Regions from separate parts of the Homo sapiens genome. Here all the other regions are linked to region 2. Evidence: promoter capture Hi-C in 16 types of primary human blood cells and fetal thymus (Javierre and others, 2016). All regions are on one chromosome and are shown on one strand. The core of a region is centred on a gene start or on the middle of the fragment in contact, and the rest is flanking DNA. Distances in the headings are between cores, read along the strand shown. Region 1 has its middle 100 kb from the start of EPC2. Region 2 holds the start of ORC4 (origin recognition complex subunit 4). Region 3 has its middle 84 kb from the start of EPC2.

Region 1 (3,539 bases), core at 998-3,497, 520 kb before region 2:
CAAGTGCCTTGCCTTGGGTTCTATTTTATTTCTTAATAGATGACAACTATTGAACTTGATAAGCCAATCAGAACAATGTTGGAAAACACCTATCATGTTACTAGATTGTTGTTCTCAATGGACTCCTTTAGTCAGAGATGTTGGTTGCCAACTGCAGGAAGTGACTAGGCAATTTAAGCAGAAATGTCACTTACTGGAAGGACAGGCAGCTCACAGCATGGACGGATGGGAAGGAACCACGTTGCTGTGGAAGCAGACAAGGCCAGGCTGAGCAGAGGTGGCTCCTGGGGGACCATCATCTTGGTGCCACCCTGGTGGCTCTGGACACTCAACACAACTGCCCTGGACTGGCCTTGGCAGAGGCACCCGTGGGTCATCTTCAGTGGCCCCAGGCCTTTGTGTCACTCCTTCAAGCTTGATGATTCGGGCTGCGGCACTTGATTGCAAGCCCCAGACCCAGCGTCCCTCTCTAGCTGCCTGGAATGGGAAAAGACCATGCATCCATTTGTTTCTGTAGTGAGGGAGGAGCCCTTTCTCCCCCACTGCCCCATCCCCACCACCTATTCTAGGATTTCTCCAAAATAGGACGAGTGTTCAATGTCGGCATCCCGAAAGAACAACTATCCAGTAAAGTAATATGTGTGTACATTCATAAGGGGGGCCTCCCACAACTCCCTAACTCAAAAGAGTGACTCTCATGGGGATTTCAGGCACCAAGACAGATGGACAGGGGAGACTTGCCTAATGTCATAGGCAGAAGCCCTGTGAGTAGAAGCTTACGTCTTCTGATTACAGATCCCAGTGCTGTGACCACACTGGCCGAATTAAGCACAGAGCTGATGCTCAAACCACATTTGCTAAATGAATGAATGAATTTTTGGGTCTTCCACTGCGTGATGATCTGCCTCAAATACATCAAGAAAAAAGGCAGGATAAAATGATCAATTAAAATAAATCTAATGGCCTTGGGGTAAGCTATCAAACCTTTTTGGATCTCTATTTCCTTATTTTGAAAGATAAGGACAAGACTGATCTCTAAGAACTTACCCTTGAATGCATTGCAGAAAGAAATTTTGTCACATATAAGAAAGTTGGAAATTTGAACACTGACTACATAATTTGAAGATGTTAAGAAATTACTTTTAATTAGTTTTGATTAATCACTTTTTAGGTGAGCTATGATTTTGTCTTAAAAAGAGTCTTTGTCTTTTAAAGTTACATGCTGAAATAATTTGTCTTTTAAAGTTACATGCATGAAATAAAGTTACATGCTGAAATGATATGATGTCTGGGATGTTTGTTTTGTTTTGAGACAGAGTCTTACTCTGACACCCAGGCTGGAGTGCAGTGGTACGATCTTGGCTCACTATAGCCTGGACCTCCTAGAGTCAAGCAGCAAACCTCTCACCTCAGCCTCCAAAGTAGCTGGGACTACAGGTGTGTGTCACCATGCCCAGCCAATTTTTGTTTGTTTGTAGACATGGGGTTTTGCCATGTTGCCCAGGCTGGGCTTGAACTCCTGGGCTCAAGAAATCTGCCTGCCTTGGCCTCCCGAAGTTCTGGGATTATAGGCCTGAGCCACTGTGCCTGGCTGATATCTGAGATTTTAATACATTGGAGAGGAACGTGGGCAGGAAAATTGATTTAAAAAATAGGCTCTGAGTTGATAATTATTGAGACTGGATTATGTGTACAGGATGATCTGTTATGCTATTTTGTCCACTTTTTATATGTTTGAAAATTTCCATGATAAAGTGTTTAAAAAGTAAATAAAACAATATTTTTCTGTAGCCCTGTAGTGTCCATCACAGTCAGAGCTTGTACTGGGCCCTGGGATGGTCACCCAGAATCTCTTGCTCCTTTGCTGTTTCCTAAAATAACCGCTTGATTTCATGCAGGTGTCATCTCCTCACACACAGCCCTGTGTCTCAAGGGAAGGTGACCCATTCCCACCTCCAGCCCTGATTAGTCTCAGCCCATCAGAGTGAGCCCAACCTTCCTGCCGATGATTAGTTCTAGAAGGACGCGGCATAGAAGGAGAGGTTTGGTGGGTCTCTGAGAACTGTTCTCCCTACTCTCCTACTCAGCTAGACAGGAGGGAGAAAGGAGGTGGCCTCAGGTACCACCAGCAACCATGCTGCAACCTGGAAGAAAACCAGCTTCAGGATGAAGCCAATGTGCTAAGCAGCAGAGCAGAAAGCTGGGAGAAGCCCAAGTCCTCGGCAGCAGTGTTGAGCTGACAGATCAAACAACCCTGAAGGCCACCTTATCGCTCAATTCCCCTCAAGGATAAATTTTCATCCTTTTTTCTTTCTTTCTTTTTTTTTTTTTTTGAGGCAGAGTCTCACTCTGTTGCCCAGGCTAGAGTGCAGTGGTACAATCTCGGCTCACTGCAACCTCCACCTCCCGGATTCAAGCGATTCTCCTGTCTCAGTCTCCCGAGTAGCTGGGACTACAGGCTCCCAACACCACGCCTGGCTAATTTTTGTATTTTTCATAGAGATGGGTTTTATCATTTTGGCCAGGCTGATCTCAAACTCCTGACCTCAAGTGATAAGCCCAACTCAGCCTCCTATGTCATAAATTTTCATATCCTTCAAGCCACTGTGTTTTTTACAACAAAGAGATAAATCTTTGTAAGTAACCAAGACTCTTCTAACAAACCCAAGGCTGAGTGAGCATTCTCCCTAACTGGTGGAATGAGCTATTAAACCTTTTTGGATCTCCGTTTCCTTATTTTGAGAGAAAAGGGAGGGGACCCCGGATCCTGCAGTCACCCGTGTTGTTTGGAATGCAGGAGGCAGGCAGTGGTACGAGGGGTCTCTCAGAAGGTGGAAACATTGGCATACCCTGGCACCATTTCGACCCAGACAGTTTTTCCTAATGTCACACCATCCTGCTTTGAATGACATTAACTTGAAGTTCCGGACACAAGATTAAGTGTCACCTTCCAAGGGGCTGATAGGAAACTTGTGCCCGGCCTTTGCTGCTGTGGATTGCTGTGAGAATGAGACAAAGGAGGGAACCCTCTTAGAGGCCTAGCAGGCACCTCGCCATCGCCAAAAAACATGGAAACAAAGGAAACTCCTGGGTTTCCTCAAGGGGAATTCTAGGCACCTAGCTGGCCCTGAGAAGTAAGTAAGCAACTTGATAAGCAAGAAGGTAAATAGTAGGTTAAAAGAACAGCCAAGGAGCTAGAATCATGGGATGTTTGGTTCCCTCTAGAAATTAAAGAACGCATCTTAACACGTGCCCCCGAGTGGTTGTTTAGACACCCAGTCTCCTGCAGACTTTGTTTAGACACCCAGTCTCCTGCAGACTTTGCATCCACTGGCACAAAGACCTCAGATAAGGGGGAACTGAGGACTGAACTCTGACTACTGTCAATTTCTTCCTCAGGGCCCTGGAGGAGGTCACAACCCTAGGCCAGAACTAACACTCTTTCCTACTGATCCCAAGTTTATTTTATTATTTTATTTTTTTATCTTAGATAGAGTCTCACTCTATCGTCCAGGCTGGAGGGCAGTGGTGATCATAGC
Region 2 (3,451 bases), core at 218-2,717:
AGTCAATATCCAAATCTCATACAGGACCAAAAAGGGGAAAACACTCAGGTCTACAAATGGATAAGCAGTTCCAATACAATCCAGATCCCGACATTTTCCCACTCAGAAACAAATGCAGTGGAGCTTTTCCTGGAGAAAAAGAGCTCTCCAATGAATTTTTTTTAAGTGACATCTAGAAAGTGTGCCTCTTTCTGTCTCTTTCCCTGGCGCCTCATTGGAGGAAGGAGGGGGTTGTTTTTGTATTCTCCCCCACTGGAGCAAGACACAATCAGATGTTAGATGGAGGAGAGAAACCACTTTTGACAACAGCAAATAAAAATAAAAGTGCCCTTCCTCCCCTGACAGGATGGGCACCCCACCTCACACACCCCTCCCTACTCCAACCCCTCCTTCACCCCCCCCAGCACCACCCCCTCCTCACCCCGGAGCTCCACTGCGTATGTGGTTTGGTGCTACTGTTGCCCCGGAGTGAAAGTCAGAGCCAGAGGAAGGCAATGAAGCCCCCACAGACACACTTACCTTTCCTGCCCCCCACTTTTGAGTGCCTTCCCTGGAGCTGTGGAGGATGACACAAAGGGTAATAAAGGGGGGGAGTGGAGGAGGAGGAGGCGAAGGAGGAGGAGGAGAGCTGGGGAAGTGGCTGCTCCTGGGTGTAGTGAGATGTCTCCAGCCAGGGCCAAGCAGCAGCAGTAGCAGCAGCAGCAGTAGCAGCAGCAGCAGCAACAGCAGCAGCAGCAGCAACAGCAGCAGCAAAGGGTCTGTGTTGCTAAGAGGCTTTTGGTTTCTTTCTCTCCTCCTCTCACGGCCAAAGAGGAGGAGGGTGGAGGGAGGGAGGCGAGTTGGAGGGGTGAGGGGGTAGGAGTCGTGGATGGGGGTTTTCGAAGAAGAAGAAACTCCTTCTCCTCTCTCAGGCTCAATCCCCCTCTCAGGGCTCAGGGCTGGAGGGTGGGGGAAGGAACTCAGCCGCCTTCCCCCCACCCCCCTGAATTCAAGGTTGAAGTGGGGTAGAATTAGTGTCCTGTCCCTTTAAAAATAGAAATAAAAGGTGCCCCCCCTCTGCCACTGCCTCTCTCTTCATCATCAGCTGCTGCTGCTGCTGGGGTCTCTCTGCTTGGGGGGGAGGGGGGGTTCGGGTAGAAGAGACGGGAGGCACTCACTGCGCATGTCCCTCTCTGACGGGTGGCTGGTTGGTTGAAGGCAGGAGGAGGGGGAGGGGAGGAAATGAGCTATTTTCCCAGAAGGCGTCGAGGCGCTAGCGACCCGGAAGACATTGTAGCGGGAGGTACAGGAGCGGGGGCGGGGAGGAGGAGGAAGTCGCTACGCTTTTAACACCCCCAGCTCCCTCCTCCTTCCTAAGGGAAAGTGGAGGAACGGAAGTGGGCGTGGACGGAGACGAAAGGAGGTCACGTGTTTGGGCGGGAGAGGGGCGGGGTGGGAGAGGTAGTGCGTGCGCGGGGCATGCCGGGAGTGGTTGTGTACGGTCCGCAGCGGCAGGTGAAGTCTAGCAGAGGACGCGGCCAGGCGATTCGGTGAAGCGATTCCTGCAGGCGTTGGTTCCCCTCTTTGACCTGGTAAATGCAGGCTTTTATGCGAGAGGTAATGGTGGGGGTAAACTTGCTGCAAACGAAGGCCAGGGGCGTCGGTGGCGCAAGGTGAATCGAAAGTGGGAGGATGGAAGGCTGTGGAGATTGGGAATTGGGAAGGGGGCAGGCTTGTATAGGCCGGGAAGGCCAGGACCAGGCGAGCTCCGTCTTGTGGCCACTCCCGCCCCGTGAGCTTGCCGAGGAATCCTTGACAAGTGCAGGGATCCTGAGTCTACCTCTGCATCGGGGTAGTAGGTGAGGAGCGTGACGGTCCGAGTGTAAGAGAGAAGGGAACTGTGAAGCCTCAGCAATTGACCCTCATGACTGCAGGACGGAGGACTTCTATCTAGGGACAGAGACAAGTCCTCTGTATGCATTTTGACCAGATGCATCACACGCGTTGCTCATATTGGATATTGCGCCCTTCATGCCTTACCTCTCAACCCTCCCTGGTATTCTGGAGTGGCTTTGGGGAAGGAGCAGGCAGGGAAGTCTTGAGTGGAGCTTCCCTCCATGTCTTGCGTTGTTGCTACAACACAAAGCCTTTGCTTTTTCTCGGAGAGGGATGTGGGATTGTGTAGTCCTTAATGTTGAGTTCTACGATTGATGAAGGAGAAGGGACGTGATCAAAGTTTCCCCTTATAGTGTAGATGAGAGTTTTAAAAGGACTGTTTTGTCAAGTTTCTTTGGTTACTATTCTTAGTTTTTGAGCCTTTGGTTTCCCAAATGCCAGCTGTTTTTGCTGAAAATAATGAATTTCTATCATAAAATTAGAATTAACTCAAAATATTTAAGAAAGGATTTATAAATTTACATTAGTAAAGCTTTTATAGTGAAACAGTGCTGGTTCTTTTTCATTGTTTTCATACAATCAATATAAAGCATCACAGTCTCAATATGTTTTGTAAAGATATTTTGAAGGAATATCATCTTTGTATGTTTTTTAAAAACCAAGAATCTAAAATTCTTCGTATTTATTATGTTGGTACTTAATTCTGTTGGGTGGGTTCTTTTTGTTTGTTTTTTGTTTTGAGACGGAGTCTCGCTCTGTCTCCCAGACGAGTGCAGTGGCGCGATCTCGGCTCACTGCAACCTCTGTCTCCTGGGTTCAAGCAGTTCTCCTGCCTCACCCTCCCGAGTAGCTGAAACTACAGGCATGTGCCACCACGCCTGGCTAATTTTTTTGTGTTTTCAGTAGGGACGGGGTTTCACCATGTTGGTCAGGCTGGTCTCGATCTCTTGACCTCAAATGATCCTCCCGCCTCGGCCTCCCAAAGTGCTGGGATTACAGGCGTGAGCCACCGCGCCCGGCCGGTGTAGGTTCTTTAGGTGTACACTATCAGTTAAAGTTACTAATTTTCCACGTTTTGCTTTCTGTAAGTTTGGGCAGTGGACCCCGTTTATGCATCATTGCTTAGCCCTTAGTATCTTCTGTATTGTGTACGGTAATCATGTCCGATGGAATCAAAACTAGACTCCTGTGCTTTAAAATTTTCTTTGTAGTGTAACCAATTGTCTGTCTTTATAGTGTAACCAATTGTCTGCCACTTTGTAATGAAAAAAAAAAATACCAGCAAGGCAGTTAATGTGCCTTAGCTACAATTTTAAATATTTTGTGTCTTTTTCCATACATTTAGTATTTAAGCATACAAACATCGATACATAGTATAATGAAAAACTATAAAGTGTGAACTCTATGTAAGCGCTGCCACAGTCAAGAACTAGAACGTCTGTGGCACCTGAGAAGCTCCCCTCTCCATTCTATTCCTGATCATCCCTTTCCTCAATTCTTTTCAGTGGTTAACACTATACTGATTTTTATGGCAATCATTTACTGCTTTCTTTCTTAGTATTTCTTAACCACCTAT
Region 3 (3,376 bases), core at 179-2,678, 540 kb before region 2:
TATGATGGATTATGTTTATTGATTTGCGTAGATTACATACTAAATTTTAACACATTGTACTCACCAAAGGATTAAATGCTGCTGTCAGATTAAATGGTTTTGTGGAGAACTTGGACTAAATCTTGCTGGCACAGCAATTGTAAAGGAGAACAGTTTCTAACAAGATTACCTACTCTGAAGAATCTCCTCAAATTTCTAGATGAGCTGTTATTAAAAAATATATGTATTTCCAACTATTTGTGCATACCAGGTTTAAGAGATAAAATGCAGAAATAAATTTGGAAGCTGAAGCTGATAAAAGACTACTGTCATCTATAGCACTCAATTTCATATTTTTGTATCTATTGAACAGTCTAATTGATTTTACAAATAAATGTTAAGCTTAAACTTATAAATTTGAATGAAATACTGATTTTCATTTGGGGGAAATGAAAAGGCCTGTGCTACAAACAAATAGGCCTGGGCACTGGGACGGGAAGATCCATGACCCGCCCCTTTAAGTGTTCATGCAAACCAGCAGCAAAGGCAGCATGGAGGGCTTGGCAAAAATGCAGAATCCCAGGCCCCTGCCCAGACTTTCTGAATCAGGATCTGCCTTTCAGTAAGATTCCCCCACACATGAGAGTTTGAGAAGTGCCTGTCCATAGGACTTCACAGAAGAGAAATCAAGTAGGGCTGGTATAAACGGTGAGGACTTCTGGCACTGTGGGATTTCTGCAGGGCATGATTCAAATTCAACAGACAAGGACATATGGAGTGGACATTCCAGGTGAGGAAAGGGGCAATACGAGGAGGCTGGGAATAGACCACCCATGCCAGACAGAGGTTCTAGTAGCAGGACACTTAGGAACAGCTTGAGGAAGTGGGGGAAGAGGCAACTTGCGGCTGAGGCTGGCAGCCAGCCAGGTCCCCACTTCGGGCTGCCCCTTACCTTGTGGATGGAGCAGCGTCCGCCGGAATTCCAGGCCAGGATCGCCAACCGCTTAGCCACCATGAACCAATTAAACCTCCAGCAGCCCCAGGAAGTCGGAGCTCATTATCTCCAATGTCTACATGGGGAGCCGACCACTTCCGAAGCTGTAATTACCGGAGGTCAGAGGGCACCTGAGGCAGGAAGTCTGGTCTGTCCCAGCACATTCTTGGCGCTCCCAGGTTTTCCCTCTGAGGAACACAGAGGAGGAGATGCCCTCCGCCGTTGGAAGTCCTTCCACAGTTTAAGGGGCTTCAAGGAGCCCTAGCTGGGGGAAAAAGAACCTTCGACCATCTTTACTCAAGCCAGGCGCTGTGAAAAGAACCTCCCATACAGTAGCCTCGTGCCTGGGAGGGAGCAGGCTACGGGGCGGGTTTGCTGGAGAGATGCCGGCCTGGGGCAGCCTTAGGGAGGAAGGAATTGGAGGCAGCTGTAGAGGGGTTCTGCAGGAAGAGGGCTCCAGCGGGGCTATTCCAGAGAGAGAGGTTGGAACTATTAATATAATAGCTATCCAATCAGGCTGTGAGGGAACTACAATTGAGTCAAGAAATTATCTTGTTTCCTTAGGAACACAAACAGGCCTACGAAGGCTTACCTGTCTCCTGAATTCTCACAGATGCCCTGGGAAAAAGGCTTTGCAGCTTGGCTGGTGGCCTGAAGCACGAGCTCTGAGACCTCTTGACCAGCCCTGATTTTGCTAGGAGCCTGTCCTGGGGCCCGCTTTCTCTTGACCTCCTGAGAGGTCTGGTGAGGTTTCTAAGTCAAGGCAACGGACTAGATTCCAGTAGAAGGACAAGTGTCCAAGGCATGAAGGGGAACGTCAGGGCCAGTTGCTCAGTCCCTTCAGGGCCACCCACAGCCGCCCTGGTCCTAGAGGCTGGGCTGCCTCTCCCCTGCCCAGCATTGCTCAGAGCATATGTTAACATCCAGCTGGGGCCCTTATCTCAGCCTGGAGACAGATTCATCAACTCCTGGAGGCCAAGGGCCAGCTTGAAGCCCTGCCTCCCCGAGATGCTGCCCCTTCGATTCCTGCTTAATCACTCCCAGCTGTTCAGGATCCTGAGTTAGCACAGATTTTCTGGGAAGAAAAGGCTCTGAAACTTGCACCATGTATTAGGTGGCTGGGGACAGTTTTGGGAACACAGCCAGTGCTGTTGGTGCCAGTCAGGGCTGCACTACAGTCCTGGGCATCTCCACAAAGAGTGGAAGAAAAAGGCTGAGGCTGCCTGTGGAGAGACCTGAAAAGTCACTCCCATCCCTTGGCCGGTCTCAAGCAAGAGATCTGCCCCTGAGTTTAAGGAATGATCTTTGGGATAGGTCTCAGTACACAGAGTCTAGGACTTCACCAGAACAGAAGAACATAGGTGTTTTGTTTCTCCTCCAAACTCCTGAGACTTATTCTTCTGGTATACGAAGAAATAGTTCCTTACAGCTGCAAAAACCCAGGGAGAGGATAACGTTAAGCTAAGAACATCTTAATATAGGATGCACATTTGGAAGCTTCTGCAAGGTACAAGCTAGCAAGGCAGGGACAGAGGAGGTAGTGATGGTGGGTAGAGGTGTGGTGATAAATGGGGAGGCCCCAAGTTCATCGTGATACACTCAGTTAAGGGATGCCACAGGTAGGGTGCTCTTCAGTCAGAAGGCAGTGAGATGCACCAGAATCCCTGGAGAAGCACTTCAGGGGGAGGAGGGCAGGCTCGAGAAAGGAAGAAAAGGAAGCTCAAAGCTGATGGGTTAGACCAGCCCAAGCCCAGGTATCTGCTCCTGGCTATTTTGGAGAGGAAGCCAACCCTGATGGGCTGGACTGGATTTCAAGCTGCTCGGCCAGGCATCCAACAGGGCCTATGGAAAGACTGACAGCTTGACCTCTCCAGGGATCAGGGGTATGGTGGGGCCCAGGTGACTTCAAACCTGAAGCCCCAGACAAGCATAGTATAGCCATGTAATAGAATACTATGTAGTCATTAAAAATCATGCTATTCTTTAAGAATATTTATATGGGGAAATTATTATATATTTGTTTCTTTTTTTTTTTGAGATGGGGTCTCAATCTGTCACCCAAGTTGGAGTGCAGTGGCACGATCTTGGCTAACTGCAACCTCCACCTTCCAGGCTCAAGTGATCCTCCCACTTCAGCCTCCTGAGTAGCTAGGACCACAGGTATGCACCAGCATGCCCAGCTAATTTTTGGTATTTTTGCTGGAAATGGGGTTTTGCCATGTTGCCCAGGCTGGTCTTGGACTCCTGGGCTCAAGCAATCCACCTGCCTCAGCCTCCCAAAGTGCTGGGATTACAGGCATGAGTCACCGCACCCAGCCTTCATTATATATTTGTAACTGAAAAAAAAAAAAGCTAGCATTACCAACACTAGAAACAGCAGGTACAGATACGGAGTCCAGTTAT

Evidence for each region. The method cuts DNA at HindIII sites, captures the fragments that hold promoters and counts their contacts. A CHiCAGO score of 5 or more calls a contact.
Region 1: a fragment that was not itself captured here is called in contact with the fragment with the promoter of ORC4 in region 2 in 6 of 17 cell types (fetal thymus, naive CD4 T cells, total CD8 T cells and 3 more); the score reaches 10.4 in fetal thymus.
Region 3: a fragment that was not itself captured here is called in contact with the fragment with the promoter of ORC4 in region 2 in 4 of 17 cell types (naive CD4 T cells, naive CD8 T cells, activated CD4 T cells and 1 more); the score reaches 8.0 in naive CD4 T cells.

What each region holds. Positions count from the first base shown.
Region 1 is chr2:148,542,275-148,545,813 of GRCh38, reverse strand. No RefSeq gene overlaps it. Among named protein-coding and RNA genes, the nearest start is that of EPC2, 100 kb to the left of the region's middle. RefSeq lists a silencer at 2,813-3,006. The HindIII fragment of the contact is 2,940 bases long and covers 778-3,539 here.
Region 2 is chr2:148,018,753-148,022,203 of GRCh38, reverse strand. It overlaps ORC4 (origin recognition complex subunit 4), which reads left to right and starts at 1,467. Exons shown (of 14, transcript NM_181741.4): 1 at 1,467-1,571. It overlaps MBD5 (methyl-CpG binding domain protein 5), which reads right to left and starts at 1,113. Exons shown (of 14, transcript NM_001378120.1): 1 at 520-1,113. RefSeq lists enhancers at 946-1,045, 1,225-1,822 and a silencer at 1,396-1,555. The HindIII fragment of the contact is 3,631 bases long and covers 1-2,409 here.
Region 3 is chr2:148,559,218-148,562,593 of GRCh38, reverse strand. No RefSeq gene overlaps it. Among named protein-coding and RNA genes, the nearest start is that of EPC2, 84 kb to the left of the region's middle. RefSeq lists an enhancer at 1,373-2,324. The HindIII fragment of the contact is 2,089 bases long and covers 384-2,472 here.